Linked DNA regions of Homo sapiens: regions 1, 2, 4, 5, 6 and 7 are each linked to region 3. Evidence: promoter capture Hi-C in 16 types of primary human blood cells and fetal thymus (Javierre and others, 2016). All regions are on one chromosome and are shown on one strand. Each heading gives the region's core, a stretch centred on a gene start or on the middle of the fragment in contact. The rest is flanking DNA. Distances are from core to core; before and after follow the strand shown. Region 1 has its middle 37 kb from the start of PREP. Region 2 has its middle 92 kb from the start of PREP. Region 3 holds the start of ATG5 (autophagy related 5). Region 4 overlaps BEND3 (BEN domain containing 3). Region 5 has its middle 19 kb from the start of PREP. Region 6 overlaps LOC105377921 (a long non-coding RNA gene). Region 7 overlaps PREP (prolyl endopeptidase).

The links. Contacts are between HindIII fragments. The CHiCAGO score rates a contact against its expected background, and 5 or more counts as called.
Region 1: a contact is called between a fragment that was not itself captured here and the fragment with the promoter of ATG5 in region 3, in 1 of 17 cell types (M2 macrophages). The highest score is 5.1, in M2 macrophages.
Region 2: a fragment that was not itself captured here is called in contact with the fragment with the promoter of ATG5 in region 3 in 1 of 17 cell types (endothelial precursors); the score reaches 7.8 in endothelial precursors.
Region 4: a fragment that was not itself captured here is called in contact with the fragment with the promoter of ATG5 in region 3 in 2 of 17 cell types (neutrophils and total B cells); the score reaches 6.7 in neutrophils.
Region 5: a contact is called between a fragment that was not itself captured here and the fragment with the promoter of ATG5 in region 3, in 4 of 17 cell types (fetal thymus, total CD4 T cells, naive CD4 T cells and 1 more). The highest score is 5.9, in fetal thymus.
Region 6: a fragment that was not itself captured here is called in contact with the fragment with the promoter of ATG5 in region 3 in 1 of 17 cell types (endothelial precursors); the score reaches 5.3 in endothelial precursors.
Region 7: a fragment that was not itself captured here is called in contact with the fragment with the promoter of ATG5 in region 3 in 3 of 17 cell types (total CD4 T cells, activated CD4 T cells and non-activated CD4 T cells); the score reaches 6.0 in total CD4 T cells.

Annotation. Positions count from the first base shown.
Region 1 is chr6:105,438,881-105,441,580 of GRCh38, reverse strand. No RefSeq gene overlaps it. Among named protein-coding and RNA genes, the nearest start is that of PREP, 37 kb to the right of the region's middle. The HindIII fragment of the contact is 358 bases long and covers 1,119-1,476 here.
Region 2 is chr6:105,493,144-105,496,035 of GRCh38, reverse strand. No RefSeq gene overlaps it. Among named protein-coding and RNA genes, the nearest start is that of PREP, 92 kb to the right of the region's middle. RefSeq lists an enhancer at 391-460. The HindIII fragment of the contact is 1,057 bases long and covers 739-1,795 here.
Region 3 is chr6:106,324,507-106,327,502 of GRCh38, reverse strand. It overlaps ATG5 (autophagy related 5), which reads left to right and starts at 1,743. Exons shown (of 8, transcript NM_004849.4): 1 at 1,743-1,977. RefSeq lists enhancers at 1,544-1,863, 1,884-1,933. The HindIII fragment of the contact is 6,577 bases long and covers 362-2,996 here.
Region 4 is chr6:107,111,087-107,114,024 of GRCh38, reverse strand. The region is part of intron 1 of BEND3 (BEN domain containing 3); the gene reads left to right. Among named protein-coding and RNA genes, the nearest start is that of BEND3, 3.0 kb to the left of the region's middle. The HindIII fragment of the contact is 2,088 bases long and covers 319-2,406 here.
Region 5 is chr6:105,421,047-105,424,044 of GRCh38, reverse strand. No RefSeq gene overlaps it. Among named protein-coding and RNA genes, the nearest start is that of PREP, 19 kb to the right of the region's middle. The HindIII fragment of the contact is 1,396 bases long and covers 906-2,301 here.
Region 6 is chr6:105,466,216-105,468,915 of GRCh38, reverse strand. All of the region lies in intron 1 of LOC105377921 (a long non-coding RNA gene), which reads right to left. Among named protein-coding and RNA genes, the nearest start is that of PREP, 64 kb to the right of the region's middle. The HindIII fragment of the contact is 2,640 bases long and covers 1-2,600 here.
Region 7 is chr6:105,399,128-105,401,974 of GRCh38, reverse strand. All of the region lies in intron 1 of PREP (prolyl endopeptidase), which reads left to right. Among named protein-coding and RNA genes, the nearest start is that of PREP, 2.5 kb to the left of the region's middle. The HindIII fragment of the contact is 561 bases long and covers 1,185-1,745 here.

The DNA of each region.
Region 1 (2,700 bases), core at 48-2,547, 890 kb after region 3:
TGAGTTGAGAATCTTCAGAAAGGAGTGGCCCTCTCCCTTCTCCCCACAAAAAAATAGGTTATTAGAGATATTTCAAGAAAGTTAAATTTAATTATAAAATTGTAGAATATAAATATACTTTAAAAATTCTAAAAGAACTTAATGATTTTTCCTCATTTATTCCTCTTCTGTATCAGAGAAACAATCAAATCACTTACATCAGTACGGGTGCAGTGGCTCAGGCCTGTAATTTCAGCACTGTGGGAGGCCAAGGAGGGTGGATCACTTGAGCTAAGGAGTTTGAGATCAGCCTGGACAACATGGTGAAACCCCATCTCTACAAAAAATACAAAAATTAGCTGGGCATGGTGGTGGGCACCTGTGGTCCCAGCTGCTCTGGAGACTGAGGCAGGAGAATTGCTTGAACCCAGGAGGTGGAGGTTTCAGTGAGCCAAGATTGTGCCACTGCACTCCAGACTGGGCAACGGACTGAGGCTCTGTCTCAAAAAAAAAAAAAAAAAAAAAAAAAATCACTTACATCAGAGGAAATTGCCTTGTTTTGATTTTAAGATTTTCATCCCATCAGAGGATACACCTCCACAAATTTTCTTGGCAATATATTCTGAAGTTTAACCGTTCTCCTGTCTAAAATCAATTCCTGGTCTAACCTAGTTTAAATCTATTTATTCCTTTATATTCATAGTAGAAATGTAGACAAATCTGGTTTTAAACTTTATCCAGAGGATGTATAGATACTTGAAGATGTTTATCACTGTTCATCTTTGCTAGGTTTGCCAGAATTTGGTACATATTTTGACAAAATTTGTGTTAACGGTAATGCACTGTAGTGTCTAATCTGGGCACAAATACTACATGTGTGAGTGCATGTCAGCAAGTGAGTGTGTGTGAGTGTGTGTGTGTGTGTTGTTGTTCTTTTAAAAACAGAAGAATCCCATCCATATGGAACATCTGGGAACCCTGTCAAATTCCTTTCTTTCCAAATCAAATAATCCCAGTCTCATTTAATTTTGTTTCAAAAAATTGTACTTATAAACCTCAAAATGAACCATTAAAGGAAGCAAGAATCACACTGGCACTCATGTAGATAGGCACCTAGGGCAATGATGTCGAGTCAAGCTTTCCTAGAAACAGGAAAAGAAATAAATAAGGTTTTTTTGTTTGTTTGTTTGTTTGTTTCTAGCATTAGAATTCTGTGGAACAGAACCAAGTATACCAACAGACATTTGAGTATCCAATAGATTTGTAGCACTGACACAGGATCTGTGGAACAGACAAGTAAAGAGTTTTGTGACCTGCTTGAAACATGCAAATAGAACTTATCTCAGGGGTGACAGTTCAGTCATTGACTGGGAATTTACTCAGGCTTCCCATTCACCCAGGACTTCAAATGTGAGCTTTTGGTGATTTTCCCCAAAGGGAGTCTCACAGATACATACGCATGATTGACAGAAGATATTTATCATTCAGTTATAAGCTTCTGTCCCATTACAGGCATCCTGCCTATAGTGCACTTTAAATTAAATACTTTTTATAAGTCATGTAATTATTTTATGAAAAGCCCAATTATATTGCATTAATTATGTACTTAAAGCATTAATTCATTAACAGTGAACATTTAAAATATATCACATTTTTTATAACCTCATTATAAAATTGGGAAGTAGCCTAGTGCCTCTCTCAACCTCTGGGAGACCCTATTTATATAAAATTCCATCTTGGCTTCTGAGCCTTTCAGTAAGAACCTGCAAGCTCCCATGTGTGGCGCTATGTCCGTGTCCTAAAAAAGCAGGATCTGGCTTTATTGGACTGACGCTTTGATGGCCTTTGATCAGGTCATTGTACCAGAGCAGCCAAGATATAAAGCAAGATGTGGCCTTTCAGTAACCTTCCTTTCTTGTGTGAGAGTAAGACAAGTTAATTGGGCTTGACAGTACAGATGACCCTTTCAAGTCAGGTAAAATGAGACTGTTGTGCTTATCACAGGTAGATAACCATTAATATCGCTTGTACTGTCTCTGGGAAGAGAAAGGGGCTTGTTTGTTTTAAATGTTTTTCAAGGAAGGCAACAAAGATTCCCGGGAAGGTTGCCTGGTCAGCTCCATCTAAGGAGACAATAGTGCCATTTGAAGGGTTCAAGACCCATTGAAAGGCAGAGAACACACTCCCATTGATAAATTATTATTATTGATAATCTCTTCTTTGTCCTTTATTTTGCATAATTGTCAAAGTTCAGACTGCGGGCCCTAGCAGATTATTTTAGACCTGTCTTTAGAAAGCTACCTCTGAAAAGGGAGTCTTTTTGTATCCTAATAACAACGAAATGTCCCAGGCAATCTAAGTTGATATTGTACTTTATTCAGCAATTTGTTTTGCTCACAATATATTATGGGACTGTTTTTTCCTTTGTATTAGTTCGATTCTCTTTATGATCAACAGCAGTGATCACACAAGTGTTCACTGAGGGAGAGGGCGGTCATAGGGGAAATCTCCCTCAGCAGAATATCATTCACTCTTCCACTAGGCAAAGTTCCCAGGGATGCAAGATGGCACCATTCTCTCCGCTTCCCTGCAGAAAACCAAAAAATTACAGGCCACTCTCAGGGAATCAAAGGCCCTTTGAGTTAGTAGGACGTTGGTACTCACCATTCTATTGTCACCAGTGTTGGCCCTGTTCCAGTTTCAGCCATTCAGAATCTAATT
Region 2 (2,892 bases), core at 18-2,517, 830 kb after region 3:
ATTCCAGTTTTCAATGAGGCAGGTAGGCTGTTAGAATCTGCAAAAGTGTTTTGGGACCTTGGGGTCTCAGTCATAGGGGTGGAGTTTAAGGGAAGGATTATATGAAGGGGATGCTGAGTTCAACGTGTGAGGTAAGGGGTCCCTAAGAGGGACGCAGAAAACAGAAATGAGGCACAGGCTCAGGTACCAGAACTGAGGGTGAAGATGGGCCTCAGAACCAAAGCAAGAGCTGAGGGGGGTGAACAGGCTAAATTGTCACAAAGGGACTTTCTCTACCACAAAGTGTCAGGCTATATACTATTTAAATCCCTCCTGCCCCAGATCCGGGCAAGACCTGACCACAGCAGTGAAGTGAGTAAGGGACATGCGTATCTCCTGATCTGGCCCCGTGGTGGAGGCAAACAACTCCACGGTGGTGGAAAGCAGAAATATTTGTGTAGAGAAGTGTGAAGATGAGCTATTCCCAGCAGAAAGGACAGCAAGGGCAAGGCAGGGAGGTGAGAGAATCACTGTGTTGGGAAACAGAATAAACAGAATGTATTGGGTGCAAGGCTGAGCACCTGCTGATGAAGAGCAAGGGAAAAGGGAAAGTGAGGCCAAATGGTGGAGGAACTTGATTTCCAAACCAAGATTTTGCCATTAAATTGAGGAAATAGAGAATCTTTGAATATTACTTTACTGCTTTGGTTGGCTTTAACCAGGGAAGTTATGTAGTCATTTTGGACACTTTAGCAAGCTTCCTTAAGGCAGGAGTCTTGTCTGTTTATTCAGTGATGTGTCTCCAACTTAGTGCCTGGCACACAAAAGAGCACAGGAAAAAAAACAAAAACAAAACAAAACAAAAACACTGTCAAAGGCATTGAATTTCAACTTTAATCTGGTGGCTATATTCAGGACAGCAAGCCTAAAGGTGGGCCAACTCATGGGAAATTTATTCCAAAATATGGTTTTAGAAATTTGATTTGTTGCAGCAGGAATCGGAAAGAACAGATTTGGCAAAGGGAATCAGCAGGACTTAATGACTAACTGCATGTTTGCTTGGGGCAGGGGTTGAGGCAGGAAACAGTGCGGGAAAGAGGGGAGTAAAAACTGATCCTGAGCTAGTTTAGAGTGTGGGTGACTGAATGACACCACTATGGAGACAGAGAAGTTGGAATGCAGAGCTGTTGAAGTGGGACTGGGAAGCTCAGTGTAGGTATTTGAGATGCGTGAAGGCTTAAGCAAGTAGGGATATTTAGAAGGCAGTCGAAATGAGACTGGAGTTCTGTAGAGGCCTAAAGGAAGGATGTATATTTGCATGTAAGTACTTCGATCATTTTCAGAGACAGATTGGGAATAAAACTAAATAGAATTGAGAATATCAACCGCATAGCTAGGATGCAGTGAAACCTAACTTACCTGGCCTGCCTCGTATTCAACAGTAGAATACTAGGTTCCATTTCTAAAATCGAACATGCTGAGTGGCTTCGCACCAAAACTCAATTCCTACTAGGCCTTCAGGACCTAATGTCCTTGAAGCTAGGCCACTCACTTTTTTTAGGAGGTGGTATTGCCAAGTAGTTAAGAGTATGGCAATAGAGTTAGAATACCGGGGTTCAAATCCTGACTCTGTCACTCACTAGCCAGATGACTTTAAACCAGTTACTTAACCTCCCTCTTTCTGTCTCTGTAAAATAGAAGTAATAGTCGTACCTACCCCTAGCAGACTGTTGTGAAGACCAAATGAATCAATGTATATAAAGCATGTAGCATAGTACTTGGTAATAGCCAATGCTCAACAATGGTCCTTGAAGCTTTGTACTGAGGACTGGAATATGTGCTCTTATTTTCATTTATGAATAGAGCGTGCTTTCCCTGAAAATCCCTGGGATATTGTAGAATATTTTCAGCAAAATAGAAAAAAAAAAACCATCAATGTTCATTCTACCAAAAGAGGTCACCTCCTTAGATTTAGATTAAAAAATATACCACTTAGGCATGCTGCCACTATAGTGAGTCTAGCAACTCAGGTGCACTAAATTCTCACAATTGAAAAAGCTCTGGGATAATTTCAGTGCTATTGTTTTGGAGACTTCCTTTTACCCTGCTTTGAATTTGTCACCGTTCCAATTTTAGACAGTAAATTATAAGTCTTTAAAAAGAGAGTTCCATTCAATCTTGAGAAAAGGGAAAATGAACCCCTGAACTGGATGTCAATTACCAGTCCCTGACTTGGGCAACGTCTGAACTCTTCAGGTTGGTAAATTCAACCATGGGGTGTTGTGTTTTTTTGTTTTGCTTTGTTTTGTTTTGTTGGCTTCTTTGTTTCATTTGCAAATTTTTTTTTTTTTAACAAGAAAGTTTGTTTCAAAAGAGCCTTTCTGTTGTATTCATAGTTGTCAGACCATGGCAAGCAGTGAGGCAGTGGAATTTATTTGAATTGCCACTCTTCCTTACTTTTTAAAAAATGCTCCCTTACAATAGTAACTCTTACAAGGATAATCTACCAGCAAACATCAGTAGGCCAGACATACTGGCAGTCCCCAGTCAATCTGTAACTGAAAACTAAAAGTATAGCAGGAAATCCTAATAATGAAACTTGCAGGATTAGAGAGCTGATGAAGCAGAAAACAAAAAGTAGGTGATAACTGCTTAGTACAGCCTTGCTGGGTGTCAGGACTTTAAGGATTTTCTTAACATGTGGGTGGATCTTCATCTATTTTTGACTTCACTTTAGCCATCCAAAACAAGTCTTGGCTCTGGGTTATTTTCCATCCTCTTCCAAGATAACCCCACACAGCTATAATCAACAGAGCTATTCCAACAAGCTTTTTTTTTTTTTTTCTCAGTAGTCTTTCCCAAAGTAATAGAGAGTTCAGGTTATCATATCTTAATGTCATGTGGTACTAAATC
Region 3 (2,996 bases), core at 494-2,993:
TCTTGAACTCCTGGGCTCAAGCTATCCTCTTACCTGGGCCTCCCAAAGTGCTGGGATTACAGGCATGAGCCACTGTGCCTGGTCCCAACATTTTGTTAGGAAATAATTTTGAACACACAGCAAAGCTGAACAAATTTTACAGTGAATACCCATTTACAATGAACCTAGATTCTACCATCTAGATTCTACCATTATATTTTACCATTATATTCTACCATTATATTTTACTATATTTGGTTAATCACATATTTATCCATCTATGCGCCCCTAAATCCATCTTATTTTTTAGATACATTTTAAAGGAAATTTTATATACTTTTGTCTGACACTGGGAAGGCAATGCACCTTAATCCCACAAGCTTTCTTACAGAGGCTAATAGCTGTTTACTGGGGACACTGTAGTGAGGATTTCTGCATTGAGTAGGTGAAGAGGACCATAACTGTGGCTTTCAAACTTTTCTGACTGCTACCCTTACTAAGAAATGTATTTCACATTCCTATCCAGTGTACACCACATACATACTGAAGTAAAAATTTTGGGACACAATATTTACCCTTTACATGTGTGAAGCATGCTGATATTTTCTATTTTATTTCATTTAAAAAGATGCTGGGCATGCTTCCCTAACTTGATTTAGATACCCACTAATGTACTGTAATTTACCATTTGAAAATCATTGTACTTAGTCCAACTCCAAGAAGATTTTTCTTTTTAAAAGAATCCTGTGGCTACTACTAGAATTTTCCTTATGTTCCCAATTATCAAGAACCTGTTTTGAGTCTCAGCACAGTACTTACTTAACATGCATGGCGTTAAGGCACGTGTAATTAAGAGAAAAACCTTAAATGCCTGCTAAGACTTCTGGATAGAGCCAATTCAAAGATTCTTTATTAGTAAGTTTACCAATTATTACTATTTTTTTTTTGAGACGGAGTCTCGCTCTTTCGCCCAGGCGGGACTGCGGTGGCCCTATCTTGGCTCACTGCAAGCTCCACCTCCCGGGTTCACGCCATTCTCCTGCCTCAGACTCTCCAGTAGCTGGGACTACAGAAGCCCGCCACCGCGCCCGGCTAATTTTTTTTGTATTTTTAGTAGAGACGGGGTTTCACCGTGTTAGCCATGATGGTCTCGATCTCCTGACCTCGTGATCCGCCCGCCTCGGCCTCCCAAGGTGCTGGGATTACAGGCGTGAGCCACCGCGCCCGGCCCCAATTATTTTTACAAAGAGTAAGATAAAGATATGTACTCTTGGATGGGTGGGAGGGTTCAGTGCTCATATAGTCTTCTGTTAAATTAGGTTATTAATGCCTGCGGTGGTTCCAACAAAGTAGAGAAGAAGATCAAATAAGAAAATGGATGGGAAAGTACTTTGAAAACTAATGTTTTATTAATACTGTTGTGTGATGCCAGGAAGAAAGGGATGTTGCGATCAAGCTCTAGGGAGGCAGTGTTTCAGTATTTTAAAAACTGTTTTTGTGGAACTGTTAAGTTAACCTCCCCAAGCCCCAATAACTACGCTTTGACGCAAGATTCTCAGAAGAGGGTAGAAGCTATGAACTTGGAGAGGTTTGGTCGCGAGTTCAAGCGTACTGCCCCGTTGGCGCATGCTCAAGAGCGACTCGGGCCTCCTTGCTGGGTTAGGCAGAACACGGAGGGCGGAGTTCGGACCACGTGGGGTCTCGTGACGTCATCTCCGGGCGCCGAGGGTGACTGGACTTGTGGTGCGCTGCCAGGGCTCCGCAGCGTTGCCGGTTGTATTCGCTGGATACCAGAGGGCGGAAGTGCAGCAGGGTTCAGCTCCGACCTCCGCGCCGGTGCTTTTTGCGGCTGCGCGGGCTTCCTGGAGTCCTGCTACCGCGTCCCCGCAGGACAGTGTGTCAGGCGGGCAGCTTGCCCCGCCGCCCCACCGGAGCGCGGAATCTGGGCGTCCCCACCAGTGCGGGGAGCCGGAAGGAGGAGCCATAGCTTGGAGTAGGGTACGTGTGTGTGTCCACCTTGTGTGAGGAAATTCCTAGAGGAGGAGGGCTGGGGAGGGGCCAGGTAGGTGTGGTAGGAAGGAGGGGTGAGTAGTTGCCTGGAGGAGCGCCCGCCCGGCCGCGATGGCGGGTGAAGGTGGTTCCTCCGGGCAAGGTGGAGTTGGCGAGACGCCGGCCCGGAGCCCTGGGGCCGGTTGGCGGGTGTGGCCTGCGGGGTCCCTCTTGGGGTACATGTCTGTTGCTTACTAAGGTAGGAAAGCGAGAGTCTAGTCGCAGGCTCTAGAGTTCAGTTCAGGACCTGAATTGTTTGTGGAACACAGTTATTTAAACCTTTATTGCACAGTGCAGTGTGAGTCTGTCCAAACTCGGTGGGTATGTCCTCCAAGCAATTTATCTATTTACGATATTCCCTGTCTCAATAACAATATTTAGTGCTACCAAAGACATTTTCTGTTGGCAAGACACTTTTACATACTTCATTTGTACTTTGGATTATTTTAAAATTATCCTGAACTTGAGGAACCTAGGAAACTATTGGTTCTAGATTTTTCTGAGGGGTGAGGAGGTACAGCCTGTCTTGAGCAATCAGAACCCGGAGACTTACCAGACAGTAGCTGAACTTCCAAAGCCTTCCAGAATTGGCTTGTTAAATTTCTGAGACCTTGAAACTGGATACTTGGCTCTGAACTGAACTATTTGTGATTTCCATAGAGGGAGTTTCTGGTTGAATTTTGAATTTGAAAATAACGATGTTGTGCTCAGGGTAGTAATTGAGAGGTATTTTACACCAGATTTAAGCCTGTGCTTTTATCTTCAAAGATATGCTACTTAAAATTGGGGGAAAGTGTACAGAATGGAACTGTATGGATATGGATTTTTAGAATAGTGCACACACCTCAAGTGTGTATTTATTTCATTAATTTCCCCCAAACTGAGTACCTCCTATGTGTTAGGCACTGGACAAAACAGTAAACAAAATAGTAAACAAAAGAATAAAAATCCCTGCCATCATGAAGTTC
Region 4 (2,938 bases), core at 113-2,612, 790 kb before region 3:
CCGGGAGGAACAAGGTTACTCACTAGAGTTGGAAATGTGCAGTTCATCTCCTTAAAGTAACTTTTGAATGGTTGAATACAAATAGTAAACATGCCACAGGGCAGCGTGGCATAGTGCCAGAAAGCTACGGTTGCAGGAAACTGAGGTAAGGAACTGAGTCCTTCAGGTAGCCAGGTATATAAACGGCTGGGATGGAGGACTTTCTCTTGTTACCCGCTCCCCACTTCCACCCTTGCAGTCCGTTTTTCTCTCTTTTTTTTTTAAACCATTCATCCCTAGATATTGGCTTTATACTACCATACAAGAGCCTGTCAAGCTTTCCTCGGTACTGGGACTTGGGCAAGATTTTTTATCTCCCTCACAGTTTCACATCCCCAGCCTCTAACCCGGTGTCTCATAACTTAGTAGGCGTTCAGTGCGTATTTCCTAAATGAATGGAGAGAGCCTCTTGGATTCTAGAGGAAAGATGGAGCCAGAGCGCCAGTTGCTGCTGCTGGGTTAGCTGGTGTCTGTGTGGCCCTTGAAATCTGTCACATCAACCTCCTGTCATGGAACATGAGTTTTTTTTTTGTTTTTTTTTTTTTTTTGAGACGGAGTCTCGCTCTGTCACCCGGGCTGGAGTGCAGTGGCTTGATCTCTGCTCACTGCAACGTCTGCCTCCCGGGTTCAAGCGATTTTCCTGCCTCAGCCTCACGGAGTAGCTGGGATTACAGTCCATGTGCCACCATGCCTTGCTAATGTTTGTATTTGTAGTAGAGACGGAGTTTCACCATGTTGCCCAGGCTGGTTTCCGGACCTCAGGTGATCTGCCTGCCTGGCCTCCCAAAGTGTTGGGATCACAGGCATGAGCCACCGTGCTTTTTTTTTTTAGACAGAGTCTCGCTCTATCACCAGGCTGTAGTGCAGTGGCGTGATCTCTTCTCGCTGCAACTTCCGCCTCCCAGGTTCAAGGGATTTTCCTGCCACAGCCTCCCGAGTAGCTGGGACTACAGGCGCGTGCCACCACTCCCGGCTAATTTTTTGTATTTTTAATAGAGACGGGCTTTCACCGTGTTAGCCAGGATGGTCTCAATCTCCTGACCTCATGATCCGCTCACCTTGGCCTCCCAAAATGTTGGGATTACAGGCGTGAGCCACCGCGCCCAGCCTTTCTTTTTTTTTTTTTTTTCTTGAGACAGAGTTTTGCTCTTGTTGCCCAGGCTGGATTGCAATGGTCTGATCTTGGCTCACCGCAACCTCTGCCTCCTGGGTTCAAGTGATTCTCCTGCCTCAGCCTCCCAAGTAACTGGGATTATAGGCGCGCGCCACCATGCCCGGCTAGTTTTGTATTTTTAGTAGAGAGGGGATTTCTGCATGTTGGTCAGGCTGGTCTCGAACTCCCGACCTCAGGTCATTCGCCAGCTTCGGCCTCCCAAAGTGCTGGGATTACAGACGTGTACCACCACGCCCAGCGTTTTTTTTTGTTGTTGTTGATACCAGAGATGCCATCTTCTTGCTGAAGAACTAATATAATGGGAAAGTTTTATGTGATTCCGCCTACCTTCTCCATGCCCAGCAAGACGATAGGCTGGTTAGGAACTGGCAGATGAGACAGTCAGCATCCCAACAATCTATTAACAGGTGCCATATTGACACATTTTCTTTACATCCTCTCCCTGTGGGTTCTTTCTTGGCTCCTAAGCACCCCTGTGTGAGCAGAAGCATAGCAGAATGTCCAATAATTACAAAGAGAAAAATTGGAGTGAGCCCTGACACAGGTTTGATTAGGTGAAAATGTAATATCCTATATTAATGTCTCACCTGCTACTTTTTAGCGCTGCCTAGAAAGTCCCTGGAAACAATGAGAAGGAAAACAGCATGTTTATATGAATTGTATTGACACCATGATGAAAAGTTTAAAGACCTCAAATTGTATAATGTAGAAGCATAGAGTATGAAGGTCGCTAGCCAACCAGCAAAAATGATTTGGTGTTTGTATATGGGAGGCTGGGATGTAGTGTTTTTTTCCTGGTGCTTAATTTTTTTTTTTTTTTTTTTTTTTTTGAAACGGAGTCTCACTCTGGTGCCCAGGCTGGAGTGCAGTGGCGCGATCTCGGCCCACTGCAACATCCATCTCCTGGGTTCAAGTGATTCTCCTGCCTCAGCCTCCCAAGTAACTGGGATTACAGGTGCGTGGCACCACACCCATCTAATTTTTGTATTTTTAGTAGAGATGGGGTTTCACCTTATTGGCCAGGTTGGTCTTGAACTCCTGACCTCAAGTGATCCACCGGCCTCAGCCTCCCAAAGTGTTAGGATTACAGGTGTAAGCCATCGCGCCTGGCCTGGTGCTTAATTTTGGTGTTAAGTGATAGGTTTTGGTTGCTAACCTAATTGTATTGTTCCCATCATTGGCTAAGGTAAGCTTGGGGAATTAATTGTAGAATTACTCTTTGGAATGGGAAACCTATTCTGTATCTTTTTAGGGGTGTTTATAGGGATGTGTATGTGTTATCTCTCTCTTTTTTTTTTTCTGAGATGCAGTCTCACTCTGTCACCCAGGCTAGAATGCAGTGGCACAATCTCGGCTCAGTGCATCCTACGCCTCCTGGGTTCAAGTGATTCTCCTGCCTCACCCTCCCGAGTAACTGGGATCACAGGCATGCACTACCATACCCGGCTAATTTTTGTATTTTTAGTAGAGACGGGGTTTCACCATGTTGGCCAGGCTGGTCTCAAACTCCTGACCTTAGGTGATCTGCCCACCTCGGCCTCCCGAAGTGCTGAGATTACAGGCGTGAGCCACCACGCCTAGCCTACATGTGTTATCTTTCATAGAATGATACACTCCTAGAGAGTCAATTTTACTCTGGGAATTTTTGAGACAGGGTCTTTCTCTTTCACCCAACCTGGAGTGCAGTGGCACAGTCTAGGCCCATTGCAACCACTGACTCCCGGG
Region 5 (2,998 bases), core at 354-2,853, 900 kb after region 3:
CAGTAAGCAGCTGGTCCCTTTTTTCTGACTCCAGGAACAGGAAAAGGACCACAACAAGTCACAGTCACTCTTTCGGGAATCTGCAACTGGCACCCCCGATTCTTCTGCCCAGGTGAAATCCTAACACTCAGCTTTCTCCTGCACACCTCTTCTTGATATAGGCTTGACAGGGGGCTGGCACTGTGGTGCTGTGGATCATGAGAAGCCCTTACCTCCCCATCTGCTGCCAGCCCACATAAATGGAGAAATAGCCCACCCTGTTCCAAGGTGGAGAGGACATAAAAACATTGCTTCCTTCCTTACCCACTGGAATTCAAATCATTAGGCTTCCACTTTTAAAAGTGTTGGTATATTATGAGAAATTTGTTTTGTCTCCATATGTGGGTTAGAGAAGGGGACAAGTGAACTATTTTTACTGTGAGTTTTTTCTTTGAGTTTATTGCCCAGTCTAAGCTGTAAAAAGAGGTCCTAGGGGGCATTCAGAATTGCTGTCCCTTAAGCCAGTAGATGGCAAGTGCTGAGAAACACTGCAACTGTAAGACACCAGTATAAACCCAGAAGCCTCACTCCACTAACTCTTGGAAAGAAATGTGTGCAGAAAGACATCCTGAAGACCTGAGTGACCGCTCAGTGAGGGGTCAAAGGAGCTTTCCTACTGGCAGGCTATGGAATACTTTGTCTATAAAAATGGAGATTTCCTTACATTACATGGCAGTTAGCATGCTTACTAGTGATCCACCTCAAGCTTTTACTACTGCAGAACCACCTGTGCCTTGCTTTCTTGCTGGTCCCTAAATAGCATGTCATGGCAGATTGTGAATGCTTTAAGTTCTGTGAGCAGTAATTACTCAGGACCTTCTCCAAGTCCCTCTTTTCTGTTTTACAGTTCACAATTCACAAAAGCTTTGATTTTCCAGGCCCCAAACTCTGGATCTCATACCCTAAATTTGGTGTCTGCCTTTGGAACTTTCAGATTTGGCAGGTTTCAAACCCTAACCAGGTTCTTGGATCTTGGTCCCATAGCATGGCTTTAAGTATTGTCTCCAACCTAAAGGGTGTCCTATTGCCTCCAAGGAGGGCCCCTCGTTCCCTCTGCCACATGTAACTGGCCAATGAGACCAGCCTCTGGTCCCCAAGACCTCCAAAGGGAACTTTGAATTGTCAGCAGCTCAGCGGGGTATCTAGAGAAAACATCCCCTCCATTATATGACAGATAAGTTGACAAAACAGGCCCACAGAGTAGTCTTAGACCACTTGTATCTCTGATACCAGGGTTATGCCAGAAAATTCAAGATCAATTAAACATGAATTTAAAACAATCCATGTCCACCATGACTTTCTGAGTGGACAGAAAATAAGAAATCAATAAATACTGTCTGAGGTTTAAACTTGTACTTAAGTAAGAACACACACATGCACACACATAAGAACATTCCATAAAGACTATAGCATTATGATTTTATATGTACTATTATTTATTAAACTGATGCTCCTAAAAAAGTAGAGGAAAATGCAGTTCTGTTTACTTTTCATAATATTACCTCCAAAGAGCTCTTTTGAGAACTAACATCTCTAGATTTTTTTTTTTTTTTTTTTTTGAGATGGAGTCTCACTCTGTTGCCAGGCTGGACTGCAGTGGTGCGATCTCAGCTCACTGCAACCTCCACTTCCCAGGTTCAAGCAATTCTCCTGCCTCAGCCTCCCAAGTAGCTGGGACTACAGGCATGCGCCATCACGACCAGCTAATTTTTGTATTTTTAGTGGAGACAGGTTTTCACCATGTTGGCCAGGATGGTCTCAATCTCTTGACCTCGTGATCTGCCCACCTCAGCTTCCCAAAGTGCTGGGATTACAGACATGAGCCACCACTCCTGGCCTAACATCTCTAGTTTTAAAGAAAAGTCTATCTGAAGTTTCAGCAATTCCATCAGTTTTACTTTTTCTTTTTCTTCTGTTAAAGTCAAGCAAATATCAATACAGATGTTCCTCAACTTACCATGAGGTTATCTCCTGATAAACCTGTCATAAGTCAAAAATATTGTAAGCCAAAAATGCATTTAATACCCAGATATACCCATTGTAAAGTCAAAAAATGATAAGTTAAACCATCATAAGTTGGAGACCATCTGTAGTTATTATTTAAAAATAGTGTGTATAATATAATCCATTGTGTACATACTCAACAATTTATTCAATCTACTATTGGTGGACATAAGTTTGGTTTCTAGTTTGGTGCTATTATGCACAAATGCTGCCATAAACATTCTTGTATGTATATCCTGGTGCACATGCCCATAAGCTTCTCTTAAAAATACCTGAGTGGGATTACTGATGTAACATATATGAATCTTCAACTTTACTAGGCAAAGCAAAACTGCTTTTCAATGTGGTTTTACCAATCTACATTCCTTCAAGAAGTGCATGAGAAGAATCTCTCTTGTTATACATCCTTCCCCTATACTTGGTATTTTCGGAATTATTGTATCTTTTTTTTTTTTTTTTTTTTTTTTTTTTGAGACGGAGTCTCGCTCTGTTGCCGAGGCTGGACTGCAGTGGTGCAATCTCCGCTCACTGCAAACTCCACCTCCCGGGTTCACGCCATTCTCCTGCCTCAGCCTCCCGAGTAGCTGGGACTACAGGTGCCTGCCACCATGCCTGGCTACTTTTTTGTATTTTTAGTAGAGACGGGGTTCACCGTGTTAGCCAGGATTGTCTCGATCTTCTGACCTCCTGATCTGCCCACCTCAGCCTCCCAAAGTGCTGGGATTACAGCTGTAGCCACCACGCCCGGCCCAGAATTATTGTTTCTAATCTAGTGGATCTGTAATGATACCACACTGTGGTTTAAATGTGCATTTCCCTGATTCCTAGTGAAATTAAGTACTTTTTCTTTTATTTTTTTAATTATACTTTAAGTTCTAGGGTACATGTGCACAACGTGCAGATTTGTTACATATGTATACATGTGCCATGTTGATGTGCTGCACCCATTAACTCG
Region 6 (2,700 bases), core at 31-2,530, 860 kb after region 3:
ACTGTCACAGAGTTATTGCCACGGCTAAATAAAGTTACATGCGTGAAAATCCAGCTGTTCTTTCCTGGTGCTACCTTCAGTAGGAATATTTCTAAGGTCCCCAGTTGAGTAATAGTTCATTCATCCAACACTTATTTATTAGTCAAGTATCAACCACATGCCCAGCATATCGGGCATTGCAGCGTGAAAGTTAAAAAAAAAAAGAAGAAGGATATAGGGTCTCTGACCTCAAGAAGTTTGTAGTTTCATTGGAGAAACATACAAACTATAGATTAACTGGCATCAGAACAATTTTTGGCATAAATATGAATGGACAGAACATGAGGGGGTAGCCAAGGTGGAGTATGGCATATCAGAAAAGTTTCTTAGAGGGAGGAGAATTAGAGCCAAGTCTTAATAGTAAAAAAGGGTATGCAATAGATTACCAGAGGGACACTTGTAAGATGAAATGTCCTTCCTTGTCTGTCAAAACGTTTAGATACTTGGTCTTTCTAAGTGAAAATTTTAATATCAAATGACACTTCTGGCTTGTGATTTGAGTGACTATACTCTCCAAAGAGTCCGCTATTTGACTATCCGCGTCAAATTTAATTCTTACCTAAGCACCTGACAGTTTTCACTTTTCTGATCTAAAATTCTCTCCAAATTTTACTTTCTAAAAATGCCTTGCATGGATTACTCTAAATGAGTAAAGGGTAGATAGAGAAGTACAAAATATTGTTTTCAGATTTCCTCTAACAGCCCGTGGACTGTGAGGATGCCCATGGCATCCCTTCTGTCTAATTGGGTTCAGATACCATGAGGTTTGAACTAATAATAAAGTGACATCAGCTGGTCATAATTCAAAATCTGTCTAAAGAAATAATAATATATGATCAATATGCAGAAACGCTTGCTTAAGGAGCAGACATTAAGTGCATTTCTAAGAATTTGTAAAAATATCCTTGATTTGCCCCAAAATCCACACATTTATTGGAAAAAAGAAATTAGAAAATAGTAGTGGTTAAGAATATGGCTTTGATGTCAGGTGGACCTGATTAATCTCCCTAAGCCTCAGTTTCCTCATCTGTGAAATGGAGATAAGAATAGTTGTATCTCACAGAACTTAGTGAATACAAAGTGAGGGGATGTAAAAAGGATTCACGGTAGTGCTTGGCACACACTGTGGTAGGCATTTCATAAATGACTTACTTACGATAACTGTTCCTCAGCCCTAGATGGATGCTAGAATCACCTGGCAAGCTAAAAAAAAAAAACAAAAAAAACAATTCAGACCCACCACAGAGATTCTGATTTCATTGGTCTGGAAAGAAGCCCAGGCACTGGTAATTTTTATACACTCTTGAAGGGATGCCAGGGATGTTCCCCTGCCTTAGACTTTGGCATCATCAATACCTACAACTCCTCCATAATCTTTTTTTCCCCAAAGAAAAAAAACTATTCAATTTGATTATTTTAATTTTTTAATTACAAATAAAAATTGTATAGGTTTATAGTGTACAACATGATGTTTTTAAATACCTATACATTACAGAATGGCTAAATCAACCTAATTAACATATGCATTACCTCACATCCCTATCATTTGTGATGAGAACACTTAAAATCTCTCAGCACTTTTCAAGTATATATATAACACATTGTATTTAACTATAGTCACCATGTTATACAATACATCTCTTGAATTTATTCCTCCCGTCTAACAGAAATTGTGTACCCTTTGACCAAAATCTTCCCAGTCCTCCCCACCTCCCGGCCGCCTGCTCATGGCATGATCCAGTTTTAAGCATCCTACTTCCCATGTTCTTCCTAACTTTCCAGTTCACTCTCTCTCCTATCTCAATAAAAATCTTTTCAACTCCATGAGGACCCAGTGATTCCATCACCTTTACAATGACCCTCCCCCAACTTTTTAAAAGTGTCCCTTACTCAGCTTAAATTCCATGCTTCATCATGAAAATCACTCTCTTCATATTTTCTCAGCTCCTTTGCCCCCTTCTACTTTACCCACCTCATCTGAGGTGGTATCTGTTCTTCAAAGATAGCTCCCAATGAAACACACCTCCCAGTATTCATTCCCTTTTGTAGACCCCCTTTCATATTGAATCTGGTTGACCTGTGACTCACTTTAACCAATAGAGTGCAGTGGAAGTAACACTGTGCCCCATCCAGGACTGGCAGCTTCTGTATTTGCACTTCAGTGAACCGTAAGCTACCATGTAGAAATTCAGCTACCATGCTGGCAGGACCATGTAGAGACACTATATGAAGAGACCTTAATGGAGAAGAGATGTCGTCATCCCCAGTTCCTAGCTGAACCCAACCTTACATCTGTCTCTGCCAAGACACTAGCTCAGTTAAGCCCAGATGGTTGCAGCCCTAGCCGATACGATATGAGTCAAAAGAACAGCTTGGTCAGCCCCCATAACTGTGAGAAATAATACATTGCTATTGCTTTAAGCTATTAAGTTTTGAGGATCCTTGTAACATAGCAATAGACAAATGTGATAGAACTTGGTTCCTACAAGTGCAGTGCTGAGATAACAAAAACCTAAAATCAGTGACATTGACTTTGGGACCAGATAGAAGCTGGAAAAGCTTCAGGAAGACTATTAGTGAAGACAGTAAGGGCAGTGAAGAAATTGCTCTTGGAGGCTGGAAAACAGGGGGTACCTAAGTTACGTACTGACCAAAAAATTA
Region 7 (2,847 bases), core at 216-2,715, 930 kb after region 3:
TGTTGTGGCCGTGATTCTCTTACTAATAGCTACATTTCTCAGATTACTTAAAATATAATCAGAATAAGTATGTATTTGTGTGATACAGTTTTAATGTTTTTCTGTTTACTTTCCCAATTTATGCCAGAAAGTGTTTACTTTAAAGCACGTGCTACATTGGGGTAAAGGGTGCTGACGCTTCGGAGTAAAGGACATACTGTTTTAAATTAAGACTTCCAAGTGACACTGATGCATTCATTCATGGTTTCTTTGACCAGTGGCCATCTGGTAACCATGTTTTCTCAGTCTGCTCAGCTGCTTGCTTATTAAATTTACCCTAACAGCTCAAGAAGCTCTATTCCTGTGGTTTAAAGGTTGTTTCCTTTGAATATGGGAGTAAAGTGATCCTGCTGGAATGGAGAAAGAGGCTGGACTAAATGAAAAGACCAGAGCGCTAGTTCTGGTTCTGTCATTCACTAGTTAGGTGACTTTTAGCAGCTCTTTTACCTGTTATGGGCCTTTTTTCTCATATGAGAAATATTTGGACTGACCATAGGGCTTACTTGCTTCTGCAGTAGGAATGTTGTCATTCATTCATTCATTCATGTGACAGTCTAGCTCTGCAGTGTTCCAGACTAGTAATGGGAAGCCAGGTGACTCTCTTGGTTCTGGTTCTTGAGGATCAGAATATAAAGAATTACCCATTCTGTGGTTTGATAAGTGCAGTTTTAAGTTTGTTTTTAGAGTTACTTGTTAGTTTTTCACCACTGTGGGTGCCTAAATCCTACAGTTTGTTTATTTATGTTTGATATTTCATGAAAGGTTTAAGTGAGGATTTTATGAAGACGTCTAAAAGATTATAAACAACTCGGAAGGGTATACTGTGGATTTTAATACACTCCAGTTCCTTCTCATTAAGCAACTCATGCTAACTCTAAGCCTCGTGGCCAAGGGAATGTAGCTCTGGCCCAGTCTGGATCTTGTTGTGTGGCTCCTTGATAGCTTACGGTGGAGTATCTTTTTTTTTGCATTAAGGTTTTGGTTACTAAGCCCTAGGCTTGACTTAGGTATTTGCTTAAATGGTAGCCTTTGATTTCTAGGATGGGTTTGTTTCTCCCCAGCATCAGCTGGGCATTGCGGTAGCTCTCTGTCTCTTTCACTTGAGCACCTTCAGCCATATGCTCAGTACTCTCCTGCTGAAAGCTTTGGAGCGTTGAGACCATTTTGGTGGAGTTCTGCCTTTTTGGGCAGAAATTTGGAAGCCATGACACTTCTTGTGCAATACCATCGACCATTGCTTAAGAGAGTTGCTATCAGGAAATTCAGGCCTGTCACAGGGGACTCACACTCTGATAGAAGAGGATTTAGGGTGAGAGGAGAACACAGAAGAGGATGGGACTAATTTCCATCAGGAGGGGGAGGCATTATGTGAATTGAGTCTGGAAGTTGACCAGTTGGGTAAGGGACAAAGGACATTCCTGATCCTGTGACTAAAGTAAAGCCATAGCTATGCAGGCCTGGATTGTTGTGGAATTGCATTTGTTTGTAGGGTGGCAAGAAGGCGATTCTGACCAGACCATCAACAGATGGATAAATTTGCATGGGGCTGGAAAGATGAGCAGGGCAGGTTTGATGGGTCCTGCCTGCTGTGTGTACGAGTCTGCACTTTATCCTGAAGGCAGTGGGTGAGTTGTTGAACAGTACAAGTAAAATATCGAACAGGATTAAGTAGTACAGTACCTTATCAGGGCTCTATTTTTAAAGCTTCTTGAGGAGATCAAGAATGATTAGCAAACTTAAATCAGGTGGAAGAATTTGATTCAAGGGAAGTGGCTATAAGACACATCCACCTCATTTGTAGGGTATGGTCTTAGAAAAAATTGGAGGTGGAAAGTTGTGGCTCCTGGGATTAACTCTGGAATTGTCCTGGAGAGAATGTTTCTTGTCCTAGTTAAAAATATCTGATCAATAACTTCCATCTGCTGTAGATGATGGTGCCCGGTCTGGGCAGATAGGGCTGCTTGGTGTAAAATTCTAGATATGCCTGAATTTAGTAACATAATCCAGGAACATTTTTTAAGTGTCTATTCTGGCCCCTCTGATGAGTGTTTGGGGAAAAGGGTGGGCTGACTGCTTTAGTCCCAGGTCTGGTTCTGAACTTGATATGGTTCTGGGCATGTTACCCAGCCTTATCCCTGCTGTTGCTCCTAGAAGTGCATGATTGAAAGATGCTTTACAATTCAAAATTTTCTGATTTCTTAATGCTAGGAAAAGCAGATTGTTATTTTAAGCCTATTTTATAACCACTTCAAGGTGTGTAAAACGTAAAAGACTTGCAGATGAGAAGAAAAGATGAAAAGCTGTTGTTCGGTGGTGACAATCTGCTAAAATTTAGAGAGGTCAGAATTGAAAATTGGTAACTTTATGAAGACCCATCTGGAGAGGCTTTAGTCGGGTTTTATGTTCCTTGCTCTTGTTTTTACGTCCCTTGCTCAGTCAGTTGTTTAATGAAAATATATACAGAGTGTTCTGGCTTACCTGCCCATTTATCCAGTTGTGCATTTCCCCAGGAGTTCTTTGACCTGGCATCAGACAAGGACAGATGTGGAAAGCCCGGTGTTGTAAGGGCCAAGGAGATTGTTCTCACCCAGCCAGAGCCACACTGGAACTAGAGCAGCACTAGGTTTTCTTTAGGAAATAGCCCTTACCTTCTGGCATTGTAGAACAAAGCAAGGAGACAGATTAAAAAATTCATCTGAGATAGAGGTAGTCTTCCCAACAGCTTTATACAAGAAGCCTTAACTAGAATGTTGGAGTGGTTCAGAGACTTGATTGGCAAGACATTGTCAGTGTGGTTTCATTAATGGG